5 separate regions of the Homo sapiens genome follow, and all the other regions are linked to region 4. Evidence: promoter capture Hi-C in 16 types of primary human blood cells and fetal thymus (Javierre and others, 2016). All regions are on one chromosome and are shown on one strand. Each heading gives the region's core, a stretch centred on a gene start or on the middle of the fragment in contact. The rest is flanking DNA. Distances are from core to core; before and after follow the strand shown. Region 1 overlaps BCL2L11 (BCL2 like 11). Region 2 has its middle 69 kb from the start of BCL2L11. Region 3 overlaps ACOXL (acyl-CoA oxidase like). Region 4 holds the start of ACOXL (acyl-CoA oxidase like). Region 5 overlaps BCL2L11 (BCL2 like 11).

What was found. The method cuts DNA at HindIII sites, captures the fragments that hold promoters and counts their contacts. A CHiCAGO score of 5 or more calls a contact.
Region 1: a contact is called between a fragment that was not itself captured here and the fragment with the promoter of ACOXL in region 4, in 1 of 17 cell types (neutrophils). The highest score is 5.4, in neutrophils.
Region 2: a contact is called between a fragment that was not itself captured here and the fragment with the promoter of ACOXL in region 4, in 1 of 17 cell types (monocytes). The highest score is 5.1, in monocytes.
Region 3: a contact is called between a fragment that was not itself captured here and the fragment with the promoter of ACOXL in region 4, in 1 of 17 cell types (naive CD8 T cells). The highest score is 5.7, in naive CD8 T cells.
Region 5: a fragment that was not itself captured here is called in contact with the fragment with the promoter of ACOXL in region 4 in 1 of 17 cell types (monocytes); the score reaches 5.4 in monocytes.

What each region holds. Positions count from the first base shown.
Region 1 is chr2:111,142,096-111,144,795 of GRCh38, forward strand. The region is part of intron 2 of BCL2L11 (BCL2 like 11); the gene reads left to right. Among named protein-coding and RNA genes, the nearest start is that of BCL2L11, 23 kb to the left of the region's middle. The HindIII fragment of the contact is 2,113 bases long and covers 368-2,480 here.
Region 2 is chr2:111,188,190-111,190,923 of GRCh38, forward strand. No RefSeq gene overlaps it. Among named protein-coding and RNA genes, the nearest start is that of BCL2L11, 69 kb to the left of the region's middle. The HindIII fragment of the contact is 6,613 bases long and covers 1-2,734 here.
Region 3 is chr2:111,091,579-111,094,335 of GRCh38, forward strand. It overlaps ACOXL (acyl-CoA oxidase like), which reads left to right. Exons shown (of 18, transcript NM_001142807.4): 17 at 1,287-1,388. Among named protein-coding and RNA genes, the nearest start is that of ACOXL-AS1, 23 kb to the right of the region's middle. The HindIII fragment of the contact is 5,723 bases long and covers 1-2,757 here.
Region 4 is chr2:110,731,157-110,733,856 of GRCh38, forward strand. ACOXL (acyl-CoA oxidase like) reads left to right here and starts at 1,417. Exons shown (of 18, transcript NM_001142807.4): 1 at 1,417-1,618. LOC124906064 (a long non-coding RNA gene) reads right to left here and starts at 1,269. Exons shown (of 3, transcript XR_007087181.1): 1 at 1,198-1,269; 2 at 680-748; 3 at 205-479. The HindIII fragment of the contact is 3,688 bases long and covers 104-2,700 here.
Region 5 is chr2:111,167,979-111,170,825 of GRCh38, forward strand. BCL2L11 (BCL2 like 11) reads left to right here. Exons shown (of 4, transcript NM_138621.5): 4 at 1-466. Among named protein-coding and RNA genes, the nearest start is that of BCL2L11, 48 kb to the left of the region's middle. RefSeq lists an enhancer at 815-924. The HindIII fragment of the contact is 3,263 bases long and covers 1-2,847 here.

The sequences.
Region 1 (2,700 bases), core at 174-2,673, 410 kb after region 4:
GCATCAGGGAGGAGGAGGAATGTGTGAACCTAAACACATGGAAGACCTTCAAAAGCACCAGAACACAGTCTTTCAGCACAGAATTCTTTACATCCTTAACTTGCACTTGTGCTAATGAAGACTCTACCTCCTGTTCTTTTCCTTCTGTGACAAAACAAGTTATCTGTCTGGGAAGACATGGCACAATTTATTTATACAACATTTTTATGGCTTGCAGATGACTCCGCTGGATCCTCCCTCAGAATTGCCCTTCATAGGGAAGTTCAGTGGCCACTCAAGTGGTTAGCAAAATCAAGGTGAAAAGTTTTTCTTTTTATTCAAAATGGGATAAAAAGAAGCAGCTGCCTTTTGTGACTTTTAAGTGAGAAGCTTTCATTATGTCTTAGCCCTACAGTGTGTTATCAATAATCATATCTGTGTTAAATTGTACTTCACTTTGTATATCACCATTGTAAGTTTTAACCGTATACATTATAGGCTTTTTCCATTTTTATTTTAAAAACTGTTTAAGGTGTAGCTTTTTAAGGATTCTGTTTTTGCTCTTATTTTTTACCTGTGTCTTGGTCTTTCTTATCATGGAGGTGAAAACAGTAATACTGAAGACCTTAATGTGAGTTTAGGAGAAAAGATGTTAATCACCAGTTTCCTGCTACTGGTTTTAAATTTCATAGAGGAAGCCACACTTATTTTGTCATCAGAAATTCTTATATTTTTTGTTTAAATTCTCATCTCCCTCCCCTCTTGCCCAGATCTGGTTTTTTGGCTAGAAACAACTTACAGTAACTTCAAATTAAGCATTTTAATTCTAAGGAATGGTCTTAAGTGAACCAATGTATATAGAGTTTTATCTTTACTTTTAAAAGGTCTCTAAAGCATTTTTCTTCTTATGGGGAAATAAATTGGGTAGTTTACCTCGTCAGTAGAAAAAATATAGGGATTTGTGTCTTTGCACTAAAGTAATTTCAGGGTTGGTCTTCTTTTAGCTGTCCTTAGTTTTGGGATTATTTTTGTTTTTCAGAATAAAATGGCACAGGTCAGATACTTTTAATCCCCTGAAAGTAATCTAAAGCTATAGAAATGGAGCTGTGGCTGTCGCAGAGACTTACTAGGATGAAGGTTGGTGTAGAAAAACTAAGGAGTAGTAGCAGTATTCAGTGTCCCGTGTCTTTCCCCAGAAGAACACTGGCAGAACACCAGGGGCAGAACACTGTCACACACTATTCAGAGCAGCGATTTCAGGAGCACACCAAGGCGGGCCAGGTGGTCAAGGGGCTTCCCAGGGGATGTCATACAAGGCACATGGAAAGAACTGGTTTAGGACCAGGTTTGGCACAGGTTCACTGACAAAAAGTGGGGTGATGATTGAGAGGGATCATAGATTTCCTTTATAGTCCCAGGGGCAGAATCAAGATTGAAGTGGGGCTTAGAAGGGAACATTTCAATTCCCTACGAGGAATAGCATCGTAGCACTCAGTGTTCTTCAGCGAGGACAGCAGTGCCTTAGGAAATGTGCATCTGTCCCAGGAAGCGGGCACACAGGCTGGGAGTCTTAGAGGGCTCCTGCTCAGGTCTCCCACATGGTGCAAGATGCTGGGCTTCTGTCGTGACTCAGCTGGGGATGTCCTTGAGTATAGGGATCACAGCTCAGTCTGGGTTTGCTCCTGGCTTGTCCCCAGCTGCTAGTAAATATGTTAATATGTGTGTCGGGGACAGCTCTGGTGACATGGATAATTAGTTTTTCTGATGTTGAATGAGAAATGAGTAAAAAGGCATAACACATTAATCTTAATGTCTTTAGACTTGTATTTTTATTATAAGGGACAGATAATAGTGAATGAGGGAAAAAATCTCATGAACACTAGTTTCCAGACTTCTGTCCAACTTCACAGCCTTGGTTTACTGGCAGTTTCCAAATGGTCAGGCTGGAAATTGATGAAAGCTGTTTCTTTTGACCATGGCTCCATAAAGGCAATGGGCAGTGCACGTTGAAAGAGTAAGTATGAAAACACTGGCCTCATCTCATAAACTTTATTATTGATAGTATTTTATCCTAGCAGCTGTTTTTGAAGCACTGTCTTGAATTCATGTGACTGCCCAGGCTTTTGACACAAATGTGTTCCAGGGAGACAGATTGAGGAATCTTTGAGTACTAATGCTGTCATCGTATTTCTCATAGCTTTTGTTTTCATCCAGTGGCTCAGCGGAATTGATTGGGATTGCCAAAAAATAAAATGATACAAGTGAGAAATAGACCTGGAGGGAGGTGTGTGTGTGTGTTGTTGGTTACTTGCTTATTTTATTTCTGAGAACCGTCAGAGTTGAGGATTTCAAACATGATTCTGATAGCATTTACCGCAAACGCTGATGGCAGTTGCTCTCCTTTGCCTTATAGCTAACTGGGACTAGAAACAGCTCCATCACCCAGGTGAGTTTTATAAGGAAACATAAGGGGGCTGGTCTGTTGCTTCCCTCCTCTTGTAAGCTTTGGATAACTCTGAATTTAGAAAGATATTTCTGAAGATATTTAAAGAAGGAGACTTACAGAGTTGAATAAACATCCTGGAATTTTTCTTTCTCTAAATGAATGTCAGCTTCAGAGAGCCCACCTGCAGACAGAGGCAGTGACTCCCCTAAACATTTTCGGAGTATCTCTTGGAATTGGTTTAAAGCTGGTTTCAGAGTCCACAAAGAAATGGCCCT
Region 2 (2,734 bases), core at 181-2,680, 460 kb after region 4:
CAGCCAGGGCAGCCTCTGGACACCATCAAATTGCACACAAAAACCTGGGGCCTCCATGGGAACTGCAGATTATACAGAGTGAGTGGGGAGGAGGGCAGGGGATTGAAATTTTATTCTTTCTTCCTCCTTCCTTGAAAATTCCGATCACTAAAAGTAAAAACATACACACACATACTCACTCACACACTCACTCACCCATGCACATACCATCTTCAACGCCTGGGCTATTCCATCTTTGCCAAAAAGAACCAAGATGTTATCTGTGAGGTATGTCTGCATGAGCTTAGACAAGACCAAACCTACATCCTCTCTCCTTGCAAAAAAAAAAAAATGCATTTACTTTTCTTCCAAATCCAACAAAAATAAATTTAAAATGTTAGAAATAGTTACTGAGCTTCTAGAAATTGTTATAGTACCGAAAGTGAGGAAATTAATTGTTACCTGGCCCAGGCACTTCACTTTCGCCTAAGCCCCAAATAAAATGGATTTTTCCTCTTCTAGTGATCTATTGATGTATAATGAGCCATCTACAACTTAGTAGCTTAAACCATAGCACCAATCCTTTTTTATTAGCTCTCATAGTTCTGGTGGCTGACTGAGCTCAGAAGGGCCACTCACGGTCCTTTTTGTAGATGCGGTCAGGCTAGGCTGGAGTCACCTGAAGGCTTCTGGACTGACAGGGATGGTGGTGGATGGTGGTTGACGTTGTCTGTTGGTGGGATCTCAGCTGGTGCTGTTGGCTGGAACACCTCTATATGGTCTCTCCATGTGGCCTGAGCTACCCCACAGCATGGTGTCTGGGTTCCAAATGGGAGTGTCCCAATAAGACCAGGAGGAAGCTGCATTGCCTTTCATAACCTGGCTTCAGAAGTCACAGAATGTCACTTCTGCCATAGTTGCAGGTCCACCCAGATTCAAGGATGGACAATAAACCCCACCTCTTTTTGGGAGGAGTGAGAAGACCATTTGGGATAGGAGATCTTATTGCAGTCATCTTGGCTAATGCATTTTCTCCATGTTTTTAAGTATGGAGGTGGTATTCTTTTTAAAAATTATCGTCCTCGTTATCACCATTGCACCAATGTACATGGGTCATGGGCTCCCCAGGCCAGCCCTACCCTTTGCAAACCTGTTCAGACTTCCAGCTCACTAACTTCTCCCCCTCCAGCCCAGGCCCCAGGGCATTCAACCCAGATCTCAGAGGCCTGTGCCCTCCTGCCTTGGGTCCCACAGTGCAGGCCTCCAATATTGTCACTGTTGTCCTCATTCCACTCTTCCACTTTGATCATCACAGTGAAAATTGCTTACAGTCTGCAGAGCTGGGTAGCAATCTCAGCTCTGCATTTACTCCTTAGCATCCTTCATTGAATGGAGATGAAAATCTCTTCCCCTCAGGACCTCCAGGTAGGTGAAATGAGTGGTGGCAAATCACTCAGCATATGGAGAGTGTCTAATGTTGATGGCCAAACTGGCCAATCTCCCTCCCACTTTGTAAAGCAGACCAGGCAGCCTTTATTATTATCATCACATGCATTTTATGCATGAGGCGAATAGGGTTTGCGGGTCTGCCAGACTTCCCGCCAGGCTTGTCCTAGGTGTTCTTTCTACCCAGTCAGCAGCCTGGCTGCTCTGCTCCGTCCCACGGGCTGGGCATTGTGCTGGGAGCTCCATGCACAACCAGAGAGCTGCCTGTCTTCTGCGTGTTGAGCACACACCATGCCAGTTTCCCTAACCCGTAGAAAAGGCTCAATACAAGCTGGGTGTGGTGGCTCATGCCTGTAATCCCAGCACTTTGGGAGGCCGAGGTGGGCGGATTACCTGAGTTTAGGAGTTTGAGACCAACCTGGCCAATATGGTGAAACTCCATCTCTACTAAAAATACAAAAATTAGCCGGGCATGGTGGCGCATGCCTGTAATCCCAGAAAGCTGAGGCAGGAGAATCGCTTGAACCCAGGAAGCAGAAGTTGCAGTGAGCTGAGATTGCATCATTGCACTCCAGCCTGGGTGACAGAGTAAGACTCTGTCTCAAAAAAAAAAAAAAAAAAAAAGAAAGAAAAAGAAAAGAAAGGCTTGATTCAAGTGTGTTGGATGGAAGAGCTAAGTGGTTTGAGGCAAAGATGCCTCTTGGGGAGCCCTTGGGCTCTGTAAACAGCTGTTGGAGAGATCTTTCCAGAACTGGCTCCCCTAGTAGCTTTGGGCTTTGATTCACAGGCCACAATTGCTATATACCCAGGTCTTTTCAGGAACATGTCTGTATCCAGGCAGGTCCATGCAGAAACTATAATCTAGTTTTAGTCCTAAGGATGCTAGTAACCTTTGTGTGGCCTGCCACACTGAATCAGCTAGAGATTCCTAGGCCTCAAGTCTCCTCAGATCCTGATTCAGCAGGGGTGTGTGTGGACATCTGCATGTCAAATCTCCCAGGGAATGCTGGGCCAGCCAGGCTAGTGACCCCCAGAAACCCTGCCCCGTGTAGGAGCACAGCAGCCTGGTAGAGTGATTATAACTGTGGGCTCAGGTGCTGATGGCCAGGGTTTATATCCTGGGTCCTGCAGTTTTAGTAACTGTGGCACCTTGGCTTGTTACTTAGACACCCTGTGCCTCAGTTTCCCCATCTTTAAAATGGAGATAATGGTGGTGGGGAAATCAGGATGCTGTGACAAGGATTAAATGAGTTGCTGCACCAGAACCTCAGCTCACACTTTACAAAGCTGGGTGGATGGGTGGGGTGCC
Region 3 (2,757 bases), core at 106-2,605, 360 kb after region 4:
AATTTATGTTTTCAGTATGAATTGCAGTTCATAGTCTCAGTTGCTCACACTATCTGAAGGGTCAGCTAACATCTTTATTGGTGTCATGTAAAAGACCCAAAGGGCACTTAATCTGGCCAAGGAACTACTGTCCAGACTTTGGTAATTTCATAAAAGAGCTGAAATTAACCTTAAATATCTTTCATAAATAAGCTGCTCAGCCATACTGTGACACTTTCTGGGAAGACTGAATAGTTGAGGCTCCTCATAATGATGCTGTTCCAAGGATACGCCAGAACCCCAAGAAAGGAATGAGGAGACCACAGGGTCTGCATGACTGTGAACCACATGACTGTGAACCACATGACTTCTGAGTCTGATAAGCCATAGAAGGCAAATTGTCTTCTAGTGGGAAGATCATTTCTATTTGACTCAGAATAAGAGGGTTTTGTTTTTGCTTGGTTTGGTTTTGAGGCTATCTTACTTCTAATGTGTCATTATCTTTTAGAGATACACAGTGAGATATTTGTGGGTGAAATGATATGACTGAGGTCTGCTTTGCAGTGATACAGAGAAGGGGAATAGGTGGGAGCAGAGTAAAAACAGGATTCGCGATGAGTGGATATGGGTGATGGAGACATGAGGCCCATACTATGCTCTCTATTTTTGCGTGATTTTGAAATTATTGAATATCGAGAGTTACGTGAATAAACAGTTAAATAAAAAGTGACTTCTTCCTACAGGGAAACTCATTTATTGTTGCTTGGTGCCCATGATGTGATGCAGAAGCTCTGTGTGTAGGTTTCAGAAACATAATAGGAAAAAACATACTGAAACAAAATGTAAATGAGGAATGCTATTTTTTGTGAAAGTTTACCCAAACCATGCTCAATGGAAAATATCAAGATATTATTATTCAGGATGTACCTTTACAGTATCTTTCACGTGGACTTTGCTGTATGGACTTTGCTCCTAAATAACGTGGGCTAGAGGAGAACCAGGTAGGTTACATATGAAATAAGGTTGGTTGTGAGTTAAAATTTCTTGAGTTTTGGGGAAGGATATATGGGAGTTCGTTATGCTATTTGTTCTACTTTTGTATATGCTTTAAATTTTTCATAGAATTCTTTTAAAAAATAAAACCTATACTGCACATCCAAAACATGGCCATTTTACATTAGGAAAGTATTAACTTTTACGATTTTATGAAATGTAATATTATGTTATTTCTCTTTCGCCTCCTTAGATTTTGTGTTTTCTAATATATTGCTATTTGTCCATTTCTTTTGTTTTCCCCCACCCCTTAGTTTTGTCTGTTGTATGGAACCAAGCTGGTGTTTCAGGAGCGGGCCTGGTATTTAGAACATAAATACTTGACTCCCATGGCCAGCACGAGGATCAGGAATCAGGTAAGGTCCCTGGGGTACAGAAAAACACTTTGTACATCAGCCCTGGTCTCCTTGCTTTCTTAGAAAACAGTCCTGCCAATCTTCTATCAGTTTCCACTCATGGATTTTTATGCCTCTGGGACTTCACATGTATATTTTCATTACCTATCATGATCGTATTACACTTAAGAGTTTAGGTGACAAGGGAGTGACTCACTGTACATGAGTTTTCTAACATGAAAAGGAGAGGAAGGTATCAAAATGTTTTCCTTGTCTTGGCCAAAAAAAAAAAAAAAAAAGTGTTAGTGATTTCTTTTCTGCTTCTTACCAAAGCCTATTAATACATTGTTTATATTAAGAAGAAAGACCCGGGGTATTTTTATGTCAGTGGTAGCCATGGGGAATTCAATACAATAGCTACGGAGCACCTGAAAAAGAAGGTGAGGCCAGTATTCACCACGAAAATGCTACTGCAAAGAAAAAGAATGTGAAACAGCATACTCATCAGTAAAACACATTTCTGATTACATCCTTTCTGCAGGAGAGATGCTGAAACACAAACAGGTATAAGACTCAGTCTCCACATGAAGGGAGCTCATATCCAAGGACACAAAACCACTTTAAAAACATAAATACTGGCCAGGTGCAGTGGCTCATGCCTGTAATCCCAGCACTATGGGAGGCTGAGGCGGGCAGATCTCCTGAGCTCAGGAGTTCGACACCATCTTGGGCAACATGGTGAAACCCTGTCTACTAAAATACAAAAAAATTAGCTGGGCGTGGTGGCATGTGGCTGTAGTCCCAGCTACTCGGGAGGCTGAGGCACGAGAATCGCTTGAGCCCTGGAGTTGGAGGTTGCAGTGAGCAGAGATTGCGCCACTGTACTCCAGTTTGGACTACAGAGTGAGACTCCATCTCAAAACAAAACAAAACAACAACAGCAAAAAACAACAAAACAAAACACAAATACTCTCACAGGGCATGGAGGTTTTCGAATGAACTTGGCCATAAGAATAAATTCAGAGTTGACAGAACAGACGTCTTAGGAATAAATGCCATTCTTATGCTAGACCTTGAAGAGTAGAAAATTAAGAGATGGTGGCCCAATTGAGAGGGGAAAATGCAGTTGAAACTTCAGACAGGGTTGATAAAGTGAGGACGATCATAGACATGGAGTACTTAGACATATTAATAAACAATAAAGACTTTACCTGTCTAATGGAAAACCTGGAGAAGTCGTCAGGAACCAGACTACAGTGGACCCTGGAGAACCTTGAAGAACATTTTTCCTTTTCAGGAAAACGGAGGTTACAGAGAAAAGTATATGTAATGATGCTACAGTAATGTATTTCTGTATAACAAATGACTCCAAACTTACGACTTAAAACAA
Region 4 (2,700 bases), core at 167-2,666:
ACATATAGAGAAAGGATGGCGGATGGTGGAGCAGAAAGATGCAAAGGACCTGGGTCCCCAGGGTAGAGCCATCAAATTCACCCCTGGGGCTTTCCTACCACCAAGCTTCCTGTGATGTGAGAAAACAAAGCCCCTTTTATCATGGATGACTGGGTATTATTACTCGCAGCTGCACAGGTGTGGTAGACAGAGGAATGACTCGCCAAAGGTGCTCATGTTTTAATCCCTAGTACCGGAGAGTGTGTTTCTGATATGGCAAAATGGACATTGCTGGTGTGATTAAAGTATGGATCTTGTGGTGGGAAGATTATTCCCATTGACCATGGATTATTCCCATGGGTCCCATGTAAACAAGTCCAAGGGAGGCAAGAAGGTCAAAGTCAGTAGAAGATGGAACGATGAAAGCAGAGCTTGAAGTGATGCATTTTGAAGACAGACGAAGGGGCCAGGAGCTAAGAAATGCAGGCAGCCTCTAGGAGCTAGTAAAGACAAGGAAATGCATTTTTCCCTGGAGCTGTGAGAAGGAACCCAGCTCTGCCAACACCTTGATTTTAACCCTGTAAGTCCTATTTTGGACTTCTGACTTCCAGAAATGTAAGAGAATAAATTGGTGCTATCTTAAGCCACTCACTTTGTGGGAATTTGTTACTGGAAACGAATACAGATGGCATCCACTAACCTCACGACAGCAGACCACACCATCATCTCCCCAGCAAAGTAGCCTCTGGAAGGGAACGGCTAACATTTCCTTGAGTATTTAAAAGGAGAATCAACAAGGTATATGAGAATTAGGGAGCAGAAAGGAAGGAACATTTTCCACTTAGGTTATAACTCATTTTCCTCCAGCCACAACAAAAAAAGGAGTGTCCTGGGAAATGAGTATCGTGTTCCGGTCGATCACCTCGTCATGAATGCAGCTTCCAGCTACCCTGGACTGCAGTGCTGTAGACCTGGGACGCCTTTAGATTACCGTGATATTAGAGTTCACAGTAATGCCCAGTGCGGGGAAGAGGTGAGATACAGCTGAGGAGGGGCCAGAGCTGGAGCCAGGCTATCTTGGGTCGTGGGGGTCAGGCAAAGTGGCTGGCCGGGAGATCTGCTGAGTGGGTCAGCCGGTCAGTCCTGAGCAGCCGGGCCTCTGGTGCCCAGGTCCACGTGACTGGCACCCTTTCTAGGGGTCTAGTACTTGTTTCTTACGGCTCACAAATCTTGAGGGACAGTTGATAACTGGAGGGTAGAGTTTTCGCTTCCTCGGAAGGGCAAGGGGAGGCCACCGTAGAAGCGCCCGCTCGCGCCGGACCTCCCGCCCGGGAAGCCAGGGCAGGGCGGGGCCGGGGAGGGAGGGGAGAGGAAGGTGAGGAGGGAGGAGACGGGCCGGGAGGGGTGGAGAGGGAGAGGGCGTGCGCCTGGGGCCTCACCTGCTGGGAGCTGGAGGAGGCGCGGAGCGAAGCCGGCCCTGCCAGCCACGCGGAGAAGCAGAGGCAGGTGAGCGCGATGCAGCCGGCGCCGGGTCTGGGGCTCGGGGACTCCTCCCTGCACCGCTACCTGGACGGCGACTTCTGGAGCCTCAAGAACGAGCTGCGCGGACTCCTCGGCGGCGCCCGCTCTTCCGGCAAAGGTACCGCGCTGCGGCCGTCGCCCCTGCCCGCGCCCCCGAAGCCGCCGAGCGTGTCCCCTCGGTCCCCGGAGCGTCGCTGCGGACAACGCCCTGGCGAGGGCGAGGTGGGGTGTGCGCCGCGCCTGAGAGGCGGGTCCCTGCCTCGCCGCAGGTGACGGGCTCCCCTCCCCAGGTGTGTGGGCGCAGCCGGCCGCCGCCGACCTCTTCGGCCCCCTGAGAGGTGCCCTCTCCTCCCGAGCTCCCTCCCCCACGAAGAGTCGGGTGCAGGGCTGGGCCCCGCGGTGACAGGCGCGGTGTCTACGAAGACCGTGTGGCTGGAAGATCGGCCTTGCTGGTTTGTTGAACCTGTTTCTTGAGTCCCCGCCCCGCGATGTCCCACCCTTGGTGGGGAGAAGGGGACAGAAAACCGCGATGGGATGGGCGCACAGGGATGGAGTGGCCCTGTCCAGGGCGTGTCTGGGCGTCGGGGTGGGACAGGCTTACAGGACCCCCTCGGAGTGCAGGTGTGCGGAATGGGCAGCTTCAGCGGGGCGGTTTGGTTATAAGAAGAACTCAGGTCCTCGATGTCATCCGATGCCAGGACAGCCCTGAGAAGCAGGCAGAGGGTTGAGTGCTTGAGCTGCACTGGAGATAGAGAGATGGTTCAGTCACCGGACAGTCAGGACCAGAACTCGGCATTCGTGTCTCCTGTGGGCTCTCTTTCTCATACCCATTTCAAGCAGTCTGAAAAGCCCAGTTGGAGGCATGCTTTGGAGTTCTAGCTTAAGAAAGGCCCTATTAAAAATGTCAGTATGTGCCCGTGGAGGATTAATTGGTTAGCCATGCCCACTTAGCCCTCGTTTAATTTATTTTGCGGAAATGAGAGGGAAGGAGATGGCTTGAGTGAACGTCAGGCTGTCCTTGGAGAATCTGGGGTTCCTGCACTGAGGTTACCTAGTGGGGAGTTGGGGGCGTTTGAAAGTTGAAAAGTGAGAAGTGTGGGATGGTGGGTATATCCATCAGTGTCTCGCCGACTTCTCTTTCCCTCTCTCTCATACATAGTTCTTTAAGTTATGGTTCTCAAAGTGTGGTACAGGGAGCCC
Region 5 (2,847 bases), core at 310-2,809, 440 kb after region 4:
CTGGTGCCTGTGTGTGTCCACTCACGTACACGTGGGGTGGGGGAAACGTGTCTACAGATGACGCTAAATCAGTTGGGGTCTACTCTAAACAGCATTGTGTGTAAGAAGCATCCTCAAGCTCCCAGTTAAGTAACTTGACTACTTTTATTTGGGAATTTCAGACTATAGAAGCTCTCTTATGTTTTATGTCCAGATTCTGTGACCACTAGTTACTGTATCAGAACTCATCAGGTACCCACTTATAAATAGCACTGATCTGGCTGTATACTGATCCATCACTAACCTGTTTTCTAGGACCCAGCGTATGTAGCATTTGTATTGCAGTTTCCCTGGCTTACTTGTGTTTTGCACTGATGAATTTTGACAGGGTAATTGCCACTTTACTTGTGCAATACTGCTGTAAATAACTGCAGATTTTTAAACAATCTTTTATGTTAATTTTATAAAAATAAAACTTTCAACTAGTTTTGGTGAGCGTTTGATTTGTTTGCACAAAATGTCAGAGAAACAGCTGAAATTATATATGAACATGTACACGCCCACACATCTGCTATTATCAGTCATAAAATGTAGCTGTGTGTAGCTCATATATTTTTGCTTGAAGACGAATCCGTGCAGTACACTTAAAAGTAAACGAGTCTTTAAAGTTTTGATGTGGCTGGTGCGAAAAGTATTCTGCCTGCACAGTCAGATATGACTCAGCACTTGGGTGGGGAGTTGTGGGGGCAGGGAAGTGTACTAGGAGCCGGCTCTGTACTGTGTTGATGAGTGATATGGCAGGTGCCCAGCCATCTTACCCCATCAACCCCATAATAGAAAGGGCTTGTCTGCAGCACCTGCTCAGGGTCAAAGGGGTCACCCAAACGTGCCTAGACCCTGTGTGTGAAATGATGACCAGGAACCGCCAAGTTCCCAGCTCCCGTCATGTAGGGTGGATGGGAATTGCCTTAGGAATGAGTGAAAGAAATTAAAGCCTGGTTTGGGGATACAGGTGATAAAATCCTAATAAGTATTTAATTTGGCACTTTCACCCTAAGTGCTGGGAAAGTGAAAGACAGACTCAGCTTTCTTTTAGACTAACAATCTGTTAATGCTTTCAATCGGGTGAGTAATACATGAATATGGTCTTGTAAATTTATTTCAAATTGTATTTGTTTCAAATCAAATTGTTCTGTCTTAATCCTACCTCCTCACTGAGGTAGGAGTTTGCATTCTCCTGGACTCTTAATCTGCAGTGTGTGTGTGTGTGTGTGTTGTGTGTACTCACACAGCAGTTTTGCTTTTCTGTAAGTGCCATAGCTCTGTATATGGTTCTGACTTAGCAATAGGTCACATATCTTTCCATAGCGACTCCACTTCATGCTAACTACTGCAGCAAGTGCCAGAGCACAGGCATAGAATTTGCTCATAGGTATCCCACTCTTGTGGTACAGGGAGGTGGAAGATCAGCCTCAACAGACTCTGGAAGACACTGTCAAAGTGGCAGCTCCACTTCACACGGGCCCTGGCAGCACATAAGAACACCCACTTACCCCCAGTGCTGTCAGACATGAGTGAGCTGGTGTCTGCCTGCTGGGTGAGGAGCAAGTGGTGCTCATTTGAATTTTTCTATCAATGCAGTAGGATGATCTTTTCAGGCACTGGTGGCATTTGCCTTTTTTTCTGAAAGTTTTTGCTAATTTTTGGTTGAGTATTTTTTCTATTGATGATTAGCTCTTTATACATTCTGGACAAAAAAATCTCTTATATGTTGGAAATACTTTTCCTTCAATCTGTTGCCTTTTTTTCCCAACATTTTATTGTGAAAACTTCCAAACATTCAGAAAAGTCAAAAGAGTTTTACAGAGAATACCCATGCACTCACTACCTAGCTTCTACCTTTAACTTTTACTACCTTTGCATTATCATGTATTCATTTATTAATCCGGCTTATTTTTTGGTGCATTTCAAAACAAGTTGTCACCAATACTCTTATCCCCAAATACTTCAGCATCATTTAGAGTTCATCAATTTTTTATAATTTTTTTCTCCAAAGATAAAATTTACATAAAGTAAAACATACAAATCCTATGTGTGCATTTGCTAAATTTTGACCAAGGATACAGCTGTCTCTCAAACCCTTGTCAAGATAAAGAATACTACCGTAACTCCCAGAAAGTTATCTGCTTTCCAGGTAATCCCTCCTCTCCTGCCCCCATTGGTAACCTCTGTTCTGAGATTCTTTTCCGTCATAAATTAGTCTTACCTCTTCCTGAACTTCATATTAATGGAACCATAACAGTATATGGTCTTTTGTGTCGTGTCTGGTTTCTTTTGCTCAGAATATGAGATCCATGTTACAATTATCAGTAATTTCTTCCTTTTTATTACTAAGTAGTAGTCTATTGTGTGAACAAACCATGCTTTGTCTATTGTCTTATTAATGAACACCTGAGTTCTTACCAGTTTGGGGCTATGATGAATAAATCTGCTATGAATACTCTCATACAAAGCATATGAGTCTCTTTTGTGAACATATGTTTTTATTCTGCAGCATGTTTTTTAATTGCTTGTGGTGTATTTTATGTAGAAGTTGTCATCTTAGGTGGTGGGTGCCTATAGTCCCAGCTACTCGGGAGGCTGAGGCAGGAGAATGGCGTGAACCCCGGGGGGCGAAGCCTGCAGCGAGCCAAGATCGCGCCACTGCACTCCAGCCTGGGCGACAGAGTGAGACTCCGTCTCAAAAAAAAAAAAAAAAAAAAAAAAAAAGAAGTCAGATTTGTCAGTCTGTCAGTCTTGCTTAGGTTTCTGTATTTTGTATCTCGTTTAAGACAACTTATCTATGACAAAGTTTTAAATATATTTTCT